Linked DNA regions of Homo sapiens: all the other regions are linked to region 2. Evidence: promoter capture Hi-C in 16 types of primary human blood cells and fetal thymus (Javierre and others, 2016). All regions are on one chromosome and are shown on one strand. Each heading gives the region's core, a stretch centred on a gene start or on the middle of the fragment in contact. The rest is flanking DNA. Distances are from core to core; before and after follow the strand shown.

Evidence for each region. The method cuts DNA at HindIII sites, captures the fragments that hold promoters and counts their contacts. A CHiCAGO score of 5 or more calls a contact.
Region 1: a contact is called between a fragment that was not itself captured here and the fragment with the promoter of CHST12 in region 2, in 5 of 17 cell types (naive B cells, total CD4 T cells, M1 macrophages and 2 more). The highest score is 6.1, in naive B cells.
Region 3: the fragment with the promoter of TMEM184A here is called in contact with the fragment with the promoter of CHST12 in region 2 in 2 of 17 cell types (monocytes and non-activated CD4 T cells); the score reaches 5.7 in monocytes.
Region 4: a fragment that was not itself captured here is called in contact with the fragment with the promoter of CHST12 in region 2 in 11 of 17 cell types (total CD8 T cells, M0 macrophages, non-activated CD4 T cells and 8 more); the score reaches 8.2 in total CD8 T cells.

What each region holds. Positions count from the first base shown.
Region 1 is chr7:1,630,333-1,634,438 of GRCh38, reverse strand. No RefSeq gene overlaps it. Among named protein-coding and RNA genes, the nearest start is that of ELFN1, 38 kb to the left of the region's middle. The HindIII fragment of the contact is 5,736 bases long and covers 1-4,106 here.
Region 2 is chr7:2,402,016-2,406,151 of GRCh38, reverse strand. CHST12 (carbohydrate sulfotransferase 12) reads right to left here and starts at 2,541. Exons shown (of 2, transcript NM_018641.5): 1 at 2,479-2,541. RefSeq lists enhancers at 25-144, 2,965-3,064 and silencers at 2,245-2,414, 2,505-2,874. The HindIII fragment of the contact is 31,732 bases long and covers 1-4,136 here.
Region 3 is chr7:1,554,895-1,559,049 of GRCh38, reverse strand. It overlaps TMEM184A (transmembrane protein 184A), which reads left to right and starts at 2,845. Exons shown (of 9, transcript NM_001097620.2): 1 at 2,845-2,936; 2 at 3,566-3,784. The coding sequence starts at 3,566. RefSeq lists silencers at 2,570-2,659, 2,700-2,769, 4,137-4,155 and enhancers at 2,427-3,226, 3,363-3,657, 3,227-4,027. The HindIII fragment of the contact is 30,451 bases long and covers 1-4,155 here.
Region 4 is chr7:1,594,359-1,598,190 of GRCh38, reverse strand. LOC105375123 (a long non-coding RNA gene) reads right to left here. Exons shown (of 8, transcript XR_001745048.2): 3 at 1,287-1,430. Among named protein-coding and RNA genes, the nearest start is that of PSMG3-AS1, 26 kb to the right of the region's middle. The HindIII fragment of the contact is 5,076 bases long and covers 1-3,832 here.

The sequences.
Region 1 (4,106 bases), core at 747-3,246, 770 kb after region 2:
AGCACCTGCAGAAGGTACCCGGGGCAGCTGACCCCAACCCATTCTTCCCAAATCCTGCCTTGGCCACACCTACCCAGCAGCCCCACTACAAGGCTAGCCTGGAGGGAGACACGGGGATGGAGAGGGAGATCCGGGAGTTGGGCAGAGAGACAATGAGGAGAGACACATACAGAGCTATGAGAGTGGTTTCAGACCAAGCAGGCCACAGTTGCAGGGGAAGGTGGGGACAGAAGGGCCTCTGGGTTCTGCTCTCTGACACCCTGCACGGTTGGGGGTTACCGCCTGCCTAGATCATTGCAGGAATGAGGGGAGAGCCTGAGCACCCACCCAGGCACCTGTGCCACTGTCAGTGAAAGGTGGCTCCCCCAGGAGAAGCCCAGGTTTGGGAGGGCTTGTTTTCTTGTCCAGAAAATGCTACAGCACCAGGCAGCATTAGGGGATGCATGGTGAGACCCCAGACCCCAGCCCCTCTCTCTGCATGAATGTCAGCACCCCCAAGTCCCCCACCAGGGGCTGCATGTCAGGGAACTCAGGGCCTCCCAGCCAGCTTCAGAGCGCAGTGACAAGGACTCACCTGTGGCCTCCCAGGGCAACGGGGCTGTCTGTTCTCCCCACCACAGTGACCTTCATGGGAAAGGGCTGTCCTGAGTCAGTGTGGTGGAGGGTACCCAAAAACCCCACAGAAGGAAGATTGCCGCAGAGGAGCAGGGCTTAAGGGCCATGTGGAAGCTGAGCAGTGAGTTTGCAGAACCAAGTCCCTTCTGCAGGAACTCTCTGCTTCCCCAGGAATCACCCTTGTCGCCAGCCCACTCAGGGTCACCCACCCCTTCCAGCTGTCTCAGCCTCAGGGCCAGCACTCACTCTGTCCTGATTCCTCCGCCCTCCCCCTCTCCCCCATCCGCCTGCCTGTGCCTCCACATGGGGCCCAGGTAAGGCTCCCACAGGTTCTGTGGCCAGTCTGGCCCAGCTATCCAGGAACCCTGCCCTCCGTGTCCACTAACACCCCTTGGGAACTCTTTGTGCTAACTTCGAGACCTCCTGCTTGCTGGAGCCCGGCCCACCTCTTAGGGACCACCAGGACGTGAACTGCCCCCTGCCCCAACAGGCTTGCCGGAGCCATGGCTGGGGCTCCTCTCCCCTGGGGGACACCCCTGTGCTGGTGTGAGGATTTCTCCAGACTTCTAAGGAGTGTATCAAGCACAGGTCTACGTTGACATCCCCCCCCCGCTCCCCTGGGTCTCCCAGCAGCCACCCCCATGTGGCTTCACCCAGGCAGTGGCCACGTGAGGGACTGGGGCACCCTTTCCCTGCCCCCGCCCCATGGTCCAACCCTTGCCTTCTCTCAGACAGGAAAGAGGCTCCCCACAGCCTCCCCCGCTCTACGGCTTAAGCCAGTAAAGTCCATGTTCTCACTTAAAACCTTTTCCTTTCTCAAAAAGCCCTGCTCTTGCAAAAGAAATCCTCTGTGCTTTAGAATAGTGCCACTGCTGCTGGTCTTTAAAAATTCATCCTGAAAGTCCATTGATTTCTTTGTGCTCAGCTCTGTCCACCTCCCCACTGAGGCAGAAGCCACAGAGCAGAAGAACAGAGAGAAGTGCGGAGGTGAAAACCTCCACCGGGGCCTAGCCAGTGCCGTCTCACCTGGCCCTGCACTGCCAGGGAGTCAAGGACTGCCCAGGGTCCCCACGGTGGGGGGAGGCAGAAGAGGCAAGGGGTCAATGCCCTCCTTGCAGGGTCCTGCCTCTCCCGACCCTGGAAGGCCATCCGTGGATGTCAGCTTCACTGCTCGGCAGCCCTACTGATATTCAGGCCTGGCTGGGGACACAGGTGTGGATTGTAAGCAGCCTTGGTGTGTACAGGTGAGGTGGGGGTGCTTACAGGTGAGGTTAGGGTGTGCACAGGGTAGGTGGGGTATGCCCAGATGAGGTAGGGGTACGCACAGGTAAGGTGGAGGTACTTACAGGTGAGGTAAGAGTGTGAGGCAAGGGTGTGCCCAGGTGAGATGAGGGTGTGCACAGGTGAAGTTGCCCACAAGTGAGATGCCCAGGTAAGGGAGGATGTGCACAGGTGAGGATGAACTATATGCCCAGGTGAGGTAGAGTGTGCCCAGATGAGATGGGGGTGTGCACAGGTGCTATAGAATGTACACAGGTGGCCGGGCGCAGTGGCTCATGCCTGTAATCCCAGCACTTTGGGAGGCCAAGGTGGGTGGACCATGAGGACAGGAGTTCAAGACCAGCCTGGCCAAGGTGGTGAAACCCTGTCTCTACTAAAAATACAAAAAAAAATTAACCAGATGTGGTGGCGTGCACCTGTGATCCCAGCTACTTGGGAGGCTGAGGCAGGAGAATCACTTGAACCTGGGAGGCAGAGGTTGCAGTGAGCCGAGATCATGCCACTACACTCCAGCCTGGGTGACAGACCGAGACTTTTTGTCTCAAAAAAAAAAAAAAGAATGTGCACATGTGAGGCAGAGTGTGCACAGGTCAGGTGGGGGACATATGGGCAGGGATCCTAGGTCTGATGATGATGTCAGCTCAAAGACCATGTCTGTGGCTTGCAGCTTCAGCGGTGACATCATGGACCTGGACACTTCCCTGGGGGAAGACAAGCCTGAGGCTTCCCTGAGGAGGCCCCTGCCCTGCCTTTAGACTGGCTCTCAGCCCTCTGTGCCCAACAACTACTTCTTCAGTGTACTGTGGATTCCGTGGCTGCAGAGGTCATCAGGTGGCTCCCACTGGAACGGGACAGTAAGGGACACCCTCTGGATGCCCAGTTAAGCCACCTGCAACCAATAGGGGCCATTTCTGGGACGTTTGCTATGCTTGCCCCTATGATGGGATCTCAGTTCCTGTGGCCTTGGTTCAAATAGGGGCAAGGGAAACGGTGGTGAAATCTCGGTCTGTGCCCCACGTCAGTGGACATCAGGTCTTCTCTCTGACATGGCCCAGCTCCTCACCCTTCTTATGGAAGGTTGTGCCTGCATAGAAGTCAAAGAATGCCAGAGTGTGAAGGGCCCTGGGAAATGGGTTCATTCGACTCTTTCATTTAAAGATAAGGCAACTTAGGTCTTGGAAGGCACATCTGTGGCCCAGTGTCCAAAACAGTTGTTGATCAGAAATTGGGATGAGTATGTGGAAGAAGATAGAAGGAGGTATGGGTGAATGATGGATGGATGAATGAATGGGTGGATGAGTAGGTGAATGGATGAATGGGTGGGTGGATGAGTAGGTGGATGGATGAATGGGTGAGTGGATGAGTAGGTGGATGGATGAATGGGTGGGTGGATGAGTGAATGATGGATGGAGGAATGGGTGGGTGAATGGGTAAATGGATAGATGAATAGGTGGGTAGATGGGTGGATGATGGATGGATGAATGGGTGGGTGGATGATGGATGGATGGATGAACGGGTGGGTGGATGATGGATGGATGGATGAACGGGTGGGTGGATGATGGATGGATGGATGAATGGGTGGGTGAATGGGTGGATGATGGATAGATGAATGGGTGGGTGGATGGGATAAATGGATGGATGGTGGATGGTTAAATGGACAGAGTGTAGAGGGATGGATGGGTAGATGGTGGATGAATGGATGGAGAGATGGATGAGTGTATGGATAGACGGATGAATGGATAGACAGGTGGATGGATGGAAGGGTGGATGTGTGGATGAGTAGATGGGTGGATGGATAGATGGATGGGTGGGTAGACAAGTAGATGAATGGATGACTGAATGGATGGGTTAATGATAGGTGGATGGGGTGAGTGGGAACTCACAGCATTAGACATCCCCACTAGCATACTGATTTTATTCCATTATATAAAGAATTAGTCTGGAAATATTATCAAAACCTTAGGAAAAACCTTCCATGTACCCAACACTGCTGGGCTCTTTGTGTACTGCAGAGAAAACGTGATGATTTCCAGCCCCAAGAAACTCCGTGAGTAATGGGAAAGGCCGTGTGTCTCTGTGTAGGGAGACAGATGGGAGTGGACAGACAGGCTGGCAGAGGAGCCATGCCAGGGAGAAGCAGGCAAGCTCCTGGGAAGACCACCCTGCTGCAGAGAAAATAATATAAACCATGACACCTGCCAGCTGTCAGG
Region 2 (4,136 bases), core at 1,292-3,791:
AAAGACAACTTAAGAATCGAAACTCAAGATGTACGGTTTTTTTAAATGACAAACAAGCCGCATGTGTTTCAGTATCATCAATAACCCGTCTTTTCCCACTGATGGCTCCTTCAGCCCCTGACCCACACTAGAAGAGAATCACCTGCCAGCCTCAATGACTGTGCGTAGTCAAGGAACTGCACGCCCAAGGTCAGCCAACCAACGGGCCTCTCTTCAGCTCTGGATCCCTTCCCACTGGGGTTCCTGGGGATTCCCTCCTTGTACAGGCTGTCTCTTCTCCACCAGGTCACATCTCCTCCAGGATGGCCACCAATACCGCCAACTCTGCAGGTCTAAAACCCACGTGTGTTTGTGTGGCCCTTCCTCTCCCACCTGGCCGCAGCGCTCCTCATCGCAGGTGAGAAGTCCCGGCTGCCCTCGCTGTTACAGGTCGCCACATCTCACAAAGCGCCACCGCCCAGTGGATTTGGCAACATCTTTCAGCTCCATGCCCGCCCCCACTCTCTCACTGCCCCAGACCCACGCCCCACAAGGCTACTCAACTCAGCTCCACTGCCCAGAGGCAAAACCCACCTCCCATATTCTCACCACGACCACTTTTCTGAAACACATCTAATCGCGTCGCACCCAAACCACCACCAAAGGGATAAAAGTTTAAACTCCCTCACACAGCATTCAGGCCCCTGCACAATCAGAAACCCATCTTTCCAGTCTTTTTTTTACTCTGTTGCCCAGGCTGGAGTGCAGAGGCCCAGTGTCGGCTCACTGCAACTTCCGCCTCCAGGTTCAAGCTATTCTCTTGACTCATCCTCCTAAGTAGCTGGGACTTCAGGTGTGCACCACCACGCCCAGCTAAATTTTGTATTTTTAGTAGAGATGGGGTTTCACCATGTTGGCCAGGCTGGTCTCGGACTCCTGACCTCAGGTGATCCGCCCGCCTCTGCCTCCCAAAGTGCTGGGATTACAGTCACGAGCCACCTCGCCCGGCCTTCCAGTCTTAGCTTCCAACCCAATCCTCAAACCCCACTTCATCAAGAACACGGCGACCCACCATCTCCCCCAAACATCACTTTCACTTCCACATCTCTGCATGCCCTTTGCCTCCAAACGCCCCAATTCATAGGTCCTCTCCACTGTGGAAAATGTCGGAAAATGTCGCCACATTCTGTTAACGCCTGCACCACAGTCTCAACTCCACACAGTTGTAGCCAGGCTGGCCGTGAGCTCCCAGGGCAAGGCCCACGCTATTACCGGCATCTACCCCAGCTTAGCATCTTGCACTCGATTGGAGGTTTGATAATAAAGCTGGAGTCAGCTGAGTGACAGCAGACAGTTACTGCTGGCCCCAAAGCGTCAGCCCAAAGTCCCATAAACTCCTTTGCAGGGAAATCAAACATCTATGCCATTCCAGGCAGGTGCTCTTTCAGATCTCAAGCGTTGCACCTTCGTGTAGCAATCTCCTCATTACCCCTGTTTTCTCTCCATCCTCACTCAGACACCAGCCCTGACTCCCAACACCAGATGCTCACGGTGAGGGGCTAACCCGGGTCCCCGCGTGGGGGTAAGTGGGGGACCCGCTGAGCTGTCCCCAACCACCCACAGCCGGGAACAGCACCGTAGGGCCTGGTGTCCTGGAAGATGTACTGCGTCCAGCACCGCGCCTGCAACTCACATTCCTATTCACCCCGGGGCTTCCGAGTCCCCACAGCCCCGCTTATGAACTAAATAATTTAATAATGCTGGAAACACTATGGCTTGTTGTGCTGCCTGCCAGACGGAGCCTCTGCCCGAGCCAAGGCTTTGCCGGCGGTGTCTCGGTGGCCGGGAGCCCGCAGAGGAGGTCTAAGTCCCACTGTTCCCGGACTAAATGCACGGTTTCCTCTCCCAGAGGGGCAGGGCTGCGGCTTCTGGAGTGAGAGGTCATTTAAGGGATACCCTGAGCGACCTGCCGGTGCTGCTGGCGTCTGCAGGCTCCAGGGCTGCGGTCGGCGGGGCCGGGGAGCCCCGTTCAGGTGACAGCAGGCACACGGGGGCCCTCGGGAGCTGGGGATCCTGGAACTCCAAGCCCGGGAATTGGTCCTACCCCTGCCGGGCGGCAGAGGCTGATGCCGGGCAGGGGGACTCCTGGGGGCCGGCGGGGCCGCTGCAGCCTCTGCTGTCGCTGAATCAGAACCACAGATTTCTCGTCCAGACCCCGAGGAGCCGCAGAACGCGCTGATCAGGGCCCCAGGGCTGGGTCCCCCTGGCCGAGGACGACGAGCGGGGCTCAGAGAGGGCGCGCGCAGGGCCAAGGTCACACTGCGCGCCGGCGCGGGAACTCGAACCCAGGCCCAAGCCGCGCCCGCCAGGCCAGGTTAAGGAGAGCCGACCCGCGCCCCTCAGCGCGGCCCGGGACCCCCGCCCGGGCCCTGGGAGCCCAGCACTGGCCGAGAGAGAGGGAGACCGCGCCCCGAGCCCGCCGCCCGCCGCGCCCCTCACCTCGCGACCCTCACCTCGCGCCCCTCACCTCGCGCCCGCAGCCGCCGCCGCCGCCCCGCGACTAGCGGACCCCCCAGAGGCAGCCCTCGCCGGCCCCGCCCCCGGCGCAGGAGCCCCTCCTACCGGTCGTCTTCTCGCGAGACGTCGCGGCCGCCGGAGGGGCCACGGAGGCCGAGGGGCGCCCGCCCTCAGCGCGCCTGCGCCCGGCCAGCCCGCCCGCCCCCGCCCTCGCGAGCCAGTGCCATGTGGCGCCGTATTTACGGCCAGAGATCGACTCCGCCCACCGGCCGCCACGAGCCACGCCCCTTTCTCAGCAGCCAATCCGCGGCGTTGACTCCGCCCCGGCGGACCGGGCGCGCGGCGGCTCGGGGACGCGCAGCTGTCTCGCCGTTCGACCCGGGAGCTCCACGTTGCAGCCAAACACGATCCCGTTAACCAACCTTTATGCAGTGCCTGTTGTCTATCCGACCCTTTCTCGAGCATCGGCTCATTGGCAAAGGATCGTGATGCTCACCGGCTGGGGCTTGAGACTCGCTGTGTGACCTTGGGCAAGTGACTTAACCTCTCTGAGGTTGTCGCCAATCCGTAAAATATAATAGGTTAGTGACCCTACCTTTCAGGGAGTATGTGAGACAAACGAGATGACACGGGTAAAGAGCTTAGCAAGATGCCTAATGCATAGTGAGCATGCAGTAATTGTTCTTGGCATCAATGTAGTTTTGTGTGTTTGTTTGTTTATTTTTTTAGAGACAGGATCTCACCGTGTCGTCCAGGATGGGGTGCAGCGGTGCAGTCACAGCTCACTGCAGCCTCGACCTCCTGGGTTCAAGCCATCCTCCCACCTCAGCCTCCCAAGTAGATGGAACTACAGACAGGTGCCACCACACCCGGCTAATTTTTAATTTTTAATAGAAACGGGGGTCTCACTATGTTGCCCAGGGTGGTCTTGAACCCCTAGACTCAAGCAATCCTCCTGCCTCAGCCTCCCAGAGCTCTGGGATTACAGGCGTGAGCCACCGCGCCAGGCCCAGTCATTTTTTTTTTAAATTATGGTAAAATATATAGAACATAAAATTTACCATCTTAACCTTTGTTGTTGTTGTTGTTGTTGTTGTTGTCGTTGTTGTTGTTGTTGAGACAGAGTCTCGCTCTGTCGCCCAGGCTGGAATACAGTGGCCCGATCTCGGCTCACTGCAAGCTCCGCCTCCCGGGTTCACGCCATTCTCCTGCCTCAGCCTCCCGGGTAGCTGGGACTTACAGGCGCCCGCCACCACGCCCGGCTAATTTTTTGTATTTTTAGTAGAGACGGGGTTTCACCGTGTTAGCCAGGATGGTCTCGAACTCCTGACCTCGTGATCCGCCCGCCTCGGCCTCCCAAAGTGCTGGGATTACAGGCGTGAGCCGCCGCGCCCGGCCCATCTTAACCATTTTTAAGCACTCCCTGCAGTGGCATTAAGCACTTTCACATCCCCACCATCCACCCCAAGAACTTTTTCAATCCGTGATATTTTTAGTTGGCCCCCTCCGATGGACTCCCGAGGCAGCCTTCCAACCAAGGTCATCTCTTCACTCTTCCACTCCCTGCAGCCAGTCCCAAAGGAGTTCCGAACCCACCGGGCCCTGGAAATGTGGAAGTGAGGGAGACGGGCAAGGCCCCT
Region 3 (4,155 bases), core at 1,596-4,095, 850 kb after region 2:
CCGGCGAGCCCTGTGAGCAGGTGGCAGAGCGGTCAACCTCCCGACTGCCCCTCCCTGGGGACCAGGCCCTGCTCCTGACATCCCCAGACCAGTACACTTGGTCCACGGTTCCCGAGCTGGCGCATCTGGCTCAGCCGGGACAGCTGTGGGCTGAGGAGATCAGCAGGCCTCCCTGTCCAGTGCCCAGCTGGCCCTGTGAGAAAACCCCACCTTTTTCCACAGAGGATCTGCCTCTGGCGGAAGACAGAGCTTTGGAGGTCCCTCAGTCTGTGTCCGGGGCCCAAGCCCTGAGCCTGCCCGAAGCCAGAGCCCTCCCAGAAGCCTGGCTCTGCTGGCTCCAGCCAAAACGGTCCTGCTGACATCTAGCCACAGTGCCTCCTGCTGTCTGCACAGCCATTCCCACCGTCAGCCCAGGGAGGGGCCCGAGGCTTCATCCTGTGCTGGGGGCTGGACGCAAATCAAGCAGGGGCTGGGGCCTCAGTTTCCCTGCCTGTAGCATGAGCGAGTTGGATGAGGGGATTCCCGGTCCCTTCCAGCTCTGCGCATGCCCAGGCACCAAAGTCTTCACCCTTCAAACGGGCCCCCAGCCATCGTCACTTCATAGTTGTCCGTGACGGTGATCCCGACACAGCCAGAGGGCGACATCCACACGCGCTGAGCCGACTGCCTGGGGCTCTGCAGGCCGGGTGGGAGGCCGGCAGGAGTACCTGTGGCTGCAGTGGGAATGCAGCTGGATGGAAGTTGGGGACCGCCTTCCAGCACCCCTGCCTGGCCAAAGGGAGACCTTAGCCCACAGGGTCACCGCCTCAGCAGGACAGCCCCCACCCCGCAAGCCCTGTGCCCCGAGCATGGACAGGGCACAGCTCTAGGCTCTGGCAGCTCCTGCAGAGGGAGGACCAGCAGCAAACACAGACAGGTGGACAGGGAGTCACACACACAGTGAGGAGGGTGATGGGACAGCGGGGATGGTCTCTCCAGAGGTGACGCCTGAGGCTGCAGGACAGAGTCACCCGGGAGCAGGGTCGGTTGGTCCAGAAGGTCCCTGCCTGGGGAGCAGGCAGGCTCCAGGAGGGCCCAGCCAGGGTGTGCATGCTGTGGCTCTGGGCCCGGGCCCGGGTGGGCGCTGATGGGGAGGTTAGGCAAGGCGGGCCTGAGAGCTGGGCACGACTTCCTGAGCTTGTTCCCCACCTGGGAGCCTCCCTGGAGGGACAGTGTCAGTGGAGGAGTTGGGAAAAGCAGGCAGGGTGTCCCAGGGAAGGATGGGCCTCAGCCCGGGCCCCTCACGGACCCCTCAAGGATGCTGGACGCGTTGATGCGCCTCTCGTTCCCATCTCTAAAAGGGGAACAGGCCGGACGTGGTGGCTCAAACCTGTAATCCCAGCACTTTGGGAGGCTGAGGCGGGCAGATCACCTGAGGTCAGGAGTTCAAGCCCAGCCTGGCCAACGTGGTGAAACCCCGTCTTTACTAAAAATACAAAAATTAGCTAGGTGTGGTGGTGGGCGCCTGTAATCCCAGCTACTCGGGAGGCTGAGGCAGGAGAATCACTTGAACCCAGGAGGCGGAGGTTGCAGTGAGCCGAGATCGCGCCATTGTACTCCAGCCTGGCGACAGAGCGAGGCTCCGTCTCAAAAAATAAATTAATTAAAAATAAAAGGGGAACAGTGGCTCCAGTCATTCCAGCCTCAACCCCTTGAGCCCTGTTGCTCAGGGCTGTGGGAGGGTAGGAGATATGAAGGACAAGGAGTGTGTGGATCCGTTGCGGGCATGGAGCGGGACTTGGTAATGGTGGCCCCAGCGGCATGAGCCCAAGCGTAACCAGAACAGGACAAGAGGTGGGCTGAGGGCCCACATCCCTCTCCCAGGAGCCGGGGTGAGTGAGTTTTTTCTCCACAGGGGCCTCTGCATGGGGGTGACAGGGACCCTCAGGGCCCCGCAACCCCTTGCCAGACCCCAAAGGGTCCAGGGACTGGGCTGTCACTCCCCCTCTCCTGCCTTGATCCACAAAAACCAGAAATATTTCCTTTTTTTTTTTTTTTTTTTTTTGGACACAGAGTCTCCCTCTGTCCCCAGGCTGGAGTGCAGTGGTGTGATCTCAGCTTACTGCAACCTCCGCCTTCTGAGTTCAAGCGATTCTCCTGTCTCAGCCTCTTGAGTATCTGGAATTACAGGTGCACGCTGCCACACCTAGCTAATTTTTGCGTATTTCGTAGAGACGGCGTTTCACCATGTTGGCCAGGCTGGTCTCGAACTCCTGACCTCAAGTGATCCACCCACCTTGGCCTCCCAAAGTGTGGGGATGACAGGCGTGAGCCACCACGCCCGGCCCAGAAAACAAATGTTTTCAACTCATCTCTTGGGGCGTGGATTTTTTTTTTAATTCAGATGAAATTCACATAACATCAATTTACCCAGGTTTAAGTGAACGATTCGGTGGCGGTAAGTATATCCACAGTGCTGTGTGCCTGCCGCCTCTACCTCATTTCAGGACTCCTGTCACCCCCCAGAGAAACCCTGTACCATTAGCTCTCCACCCCTCCTCCTGCAGCCCGGCCCTCCTTGGCCTGCCGCAGACCTCTCCCACGTGTCCCCACCAGGTGGCAGCTGCCTGGCCGTCTGGCATAGGCAGGTGAGGGCGCCAGGCGGCCAGCAGGTTCCTGGGAGCCAGCTGCCACCCAGCAAACAACCGGGAGGATAGGGTGTCAGCCGTGGGAGGGGACAGGAGGGGACGGGCCTGCAGCCTGGGGCCCAGGTGGGCCACTGGGGACGTGAGGCACTGGCCGCCCCGCCCCAGCCTGGCACAGCCCTTCAGATCCTGGCCTTGCCGCACCCACAGTGGGGCCTCCAGTTGGGGCCACGTGGCCATGAGAATGACCAGCTAGGCTTCCCTGGAGGCCAGGCCTCCCTGGACTGGGCCAGGTGCTTCCTGCCAGCAAAGGTAGAGCTGGGCCCTGTGACCGCAGACCAGAGGGAGAGGAGGAGGCTGGACTGGGCTGCGAGTGTGGGAGAGGGTGGACTCAGGGCCCCAGCAGGTTAGTGGGAGATGGAACAGGCACCCAGGGCTGCCAAGAACCCCAGCAAAGCCGGGCTCCCAGGTGGGTGGACAGGTCCCAGAGCCAGTGAGGGCCGGCTCCTCCCATGAGGGTGGCTGCACACCCCCTCCTGCCGGGGCAGGCAGTGCTGGTCTGCGCCCGCTCCCCAGCCCTCCCGGGCAGGCAGGGCGGCAGGGGTTCCCCCTCTTCTGCCCCACTGGAAGACGGTCTTTGTCCCCTAAGAAGCAGGCTCCCTGCAAGCCTGAGACTCGGAGTTGGAAGCTGGTTTTACAAGGGGGAATTGAGGTGGGACCCTCAGGTCGCAGGTGGTTGATGGGTGAGCTTCGATGGCTGAGCTCGGAGCAGGGAGGGAGCCGGGCCTGGCGCTGGTGTCCGTGTGGGGGGTGCGGCCTGGTGGGTGGCTCAGCCTCAGCTCCCGTCTCACTGTCTCCTCCCTCCCCCGCTGCTTCCTGCTGCCGGGAGCCAGTACCTTTGCCCTCACTCCTCCCGGTGTGTGTCCTCCCTCCCTCTGCAGATGAGTAATGTCTCAGGGATCCTGGAGACAGCCGGCGTCCCCCTGGTGTCAGCGAACTGGCCGCAGCCCAGCCCCCCACCGGCTGTGCCAGCTGGGCCGCAGATGGACCACATGGGGAACAGCTCCCAGGGGGCCCCCTGGCTCTTCCTCACCTCCGCACTGGCCCGAGGCGTCTCGGGGATCTTCGTGTGGACTGCCCTGGTGCTCACCTGCCACCAGGTAAGCCCTTCCGCCCCCGAGCCTCCTTCAGGACCTTGGTCTCCACAGGACGTGGCCGTGGCTCAGCCCGGTCCCCCTGGGTGCCGCTGCTATAGACGCTGTCAGAAGTGGGATCGGCCAGGGCACGGGGGAGGGGATGAGCTTCCCCAGGATGTGGCATGTGGGAGCTGGGCCTGAAAATGGGGAGATCTCTGCCAGGCTGAGGGCAGAGCGCCCACCGGGCACCCCTGGCTATTTCACAGGCTCGTCACTCGGCTCACTGAGGTCTGCAGTGTGGTCCCATTTCACAGACAAGAAGACTGAGTCTCAGAGAGACCAGAGGTCTTTCCCAGGCTCACATAGCTGGAAAGGGGAAGGGGCCTTCTCCTTCC
Region 4 (3,832 bases), core at 1,188-3,687, 810 kb after region 2:
CTCAGGGTCACACAGCGCATGCCCCGCACTGGCCTCTGCACCAGCCTCCATCTCCTTAATGACCCCCGCAAGGAGGCATCAGAACTCAGCAGGTGCAGCCCCTCAAGGTTGGTAAATACTTTTATGTTTTTGAAAAGTGTAATTTAAAAACTCAGTGTGACATCCTATCCAGCCACGGGCCTCAGGATACACTTAACCCTCCTGCTGGCCCTTCTGCCCAGCTGAGCCTGGGATCCCACCCGTGAGCCGGGGACTGTCACGACCCACACTCGATCCCCTCCATACGTCCCATGGCCTCCCGCGGCATCTCCCCTTCTTCCTCCATCACTGCTCCATTTTCCCAAAGGCCCCAGGAGTTCTGGTTTCTCCATTTTCCTCTCAATGAAGTGTGAGAGGCCCTGCCCCCCACAGACCCCCTGGAAGCTCTGAGGATCATCCTCTCTTCCCTGTGCCCACATCCAGGCCCCTGCAAACCCCACAGCAGCTGCCAGCTGCACCCTGAACACAGCCAACCCCGTGCCAGGGGCCAGAGGCCTTACGGAGCCTCGCCCCGCCACCTTGGCTCCTTCGTCTCATACCGTGAGCCTCCTGGCTCACCACCGAGATCACGTGCTGCCTGCCATGGGGTGAACGGGGACCCCAAAAAGAGCTACCCAAGCGCTGACCCCTGGGACCTGTGCATGGGACCTTTCACCCTGTGAATTGGTCTTAGGGAATGGAATTGATTAAAGACATCAAGATGAGGTCATCCTGGATTCAGGATGGGCCCCAAATCCAATGACAGATGTCCTTGTAAGAACAGAGAAGGACACAGAGACACAGAGGCCATGTGACGAGGGCCGTGGGATGACAGCAACAGAGATTGCAGCGGTGTGTCAGCCATGAGCTGTTGGCAGCTGCCAGAAGCAGGAGAAGGGCCTGGAATAAATTCTCCGCTGCCAGGACCCTCAAGAAGGAACCAGCCCTGCTGACTCCGACTCCTTGGTTCCCTCCTGACCTGTGGGATGGTAACTTTCTGTGGTTTTAAGTCCCACAGTTTGCAATAACTCATCATGGCAGTTGGCAGTTGAAGGAAGCTGCCTCTCTTTCAGTCCCTAAAACATTTGAGTCCTTTTCTGCCTCCGAGCCTTTACATACACTGTTCCCTCCGCCCAGAATGCTTTTCCCTCGACCTCCACCTGCCTGCCTTCTGCTCGGCACTCAAGCCTCAACCGAAACATCACCTCCTCAGATGCTCCTCCTCGAACCACCCGCCCAGGCACGATTGCGCCCCTCCACGTTGGTACCGTCGTGGCGCTGATTGCCGGAAATGGGCTCACGCATTGACTGGTGCGCTCCTCTTCCCATCTGTCCACACCCCCGGATGCGGCCATCAGCTGTCTTGGCCCCCGAGGTGACCCAGCGTGGACACGGCACCTGGCACAGGGTACCTGGTTGGTAAACGAGCATAGAGTCAGTGACTCAAGCAGAAAGACCACGGGGAGAATAATTTGCAGGCCTGGGGGAAGAAAAAGCAGCGTGGACCCTGGGAACCACGTGTTTCGCCTGCGTACACTGTTGCCATTCTCTGCAATGGCAGGAGAGAGGCTATTGGGTTTTAAATCTCCAGGAAGCTGATAAATGCATTTGACTCCCAGCGCCTCATAGGTGGAGTACACCCCCACCCACACACAGCCATTAGAGCCCTGGGGATAGGGCACGGAGCCTGGAACACGTCGGACCCCACTAACGCCAGGCCATCACTCCATCTCCCTAAATATCTGATTTCTGTCATGCGGGGCTGTAAACTGTCCCCACGCACACGGCACCCAAGATTGTATCAGGGGCTGAGTGGCCTCTGCTCCTCCAGGAGCTTGTAGATAAACACGGCTGTTTCTCTCTTGGCTGACACGGGAGGGGAATGTCGCAGCCATGAGGCATTGAGAGGTTAAAATGTTTAATTAATTTTTCCTGACCGGTCTTTGCAGGGCCCCTTTGCAGACGAAAGGCACTGTGGCCCCCAAGGTGTGGCTTCGCTAATGGAGTCAGAATCTGTACAATGGGTTAAAAATGCACAAATAAATCCCCAGCTCCTAAGGGTTGGCCTGGAAAACTAGAGAGATGGCTCCCTGTTGAGTGAGGAGGTGAAATTGAGGAATTGGAATATGATTTGGGGAGAGGGGTTTATCTTGATCTCTGCACCCTCCCTCCCCCGACTTGTTTTCCGGGCTCTATCCTGGAAGGAGCCGGGGGTGTGGGCAGCGGCGGGTGAGGGAAGGGACGAGGGGATCGTGAGGTGAGGGGTGCTCACGATCCCACCCCACCCCATGCCCGTGCCACAGCCAGTCCCAGGACTCTGGTGCACTGGAGGTGCTTGTGAAACAGCTCCAGAATGAACGTTCAGGTCCCTATCTCACCCTCGCCCCTGCCCCACCCTCTCCAGACTTGACATGGGCAGGACTGGCCTCTTCTCCATCCCATGGCCAGCTTGGCCCCTGCTGCAGCCCCAGCCCAAACATCTCTTCATCAGAAACCACCCAGGCCCCCGGATTCCAATTCATCCCAGCTGGTCTCTCCAGATTCTCAGCATTCATGTACACAGAAATACAGGCATGTTCGTTTCTTGTTTTCTTTCTCTTCTACTAAACAGGGAGCTCCGTGGAGGCAGTGGCCTTTCTAGTCCTGTTCACTGCCGTATCTCCAGAGCTGACAGAGCTCCTACAGTCCTAGACAAGCAAGGACTGCTTGGATGAGTGGGAGGGTGGATGGCTGGGAGGATGGATGGAGGGAGGATGGATGTGAGGGTGAATGGATGGGAGGATGGATAGACGGATGGATGGGAGGGTGGATGGGTGGGAGAAGGGATGGGTGGATGGATGGATGGATAGGAGGATGGATGGATAGAAGGGAGGGTGGATAGACGGGAGGATAAATGGATGGATGGATGGATGGATGCATGGATGCATGGATGGATGAATGCATGAGTGGATGGGAGGGATGGATGGGAGGATGAATAGATAGATGGATGGGAGGGTGGATGGATGGGAGGATGGATAGATGGATGGACGGGAAGGTGGATGGATAGGAGGATGGATAGATGGATGGATGGGAAAGTGGATGGATAGGAGGATGGATGGAGGGATGGACAGGAGGATGGATGGAAGGATGGATGGGAGGATGGATAGATGGATGAACGGGAGGGTGGATGGATGGGAGGATGGATGGATGGATGGATGGATGGATGGATGGACGGACGGGAGGATGGATAGATGGATGGACGGGAGGGTGGATGGATGGCAAGATGGATAGATGGATCGATGGGAGGATGGATGGGTGGGAGGGTGGATGGATGGGAGAATGGATGGATGGATGGGAGGATGGATGGGTGGGAGGGTGGATGGATGGGAGAATGGATGGATGGATGGGAGGATGGATGGATAGAAGGGAGGGTGGATAGATAGGAGGATGGATGGATGGATGGATGGATGGATGCATGGATGGATGGGAGGGTGGATGTAGGGAGGATGGATGGATGGATGGATGGAAGAGTGGATGGATGGGAGAATGGATGGATGAATGGGAGGGCGAATGGATGGCAGGGTGGAAGGATGGAAGGATGGATGGATGGATGGATGGATGGATGGATGCATGGATGGATGCATGGATGGATGGGAGGGTGGATGGATGGGAGGGTGGATGGATGGGAGGGTGGATGGATAAATGGATGGATGGATAGATGCATGGATGGATGGATGGATGCATGCATGAATGGATGGGAGGGTGGATGGATGGGAGGGTGGATGGATAAATGGATGGATGGATAGATGCATGGATGGATGGATGCATGCATGGA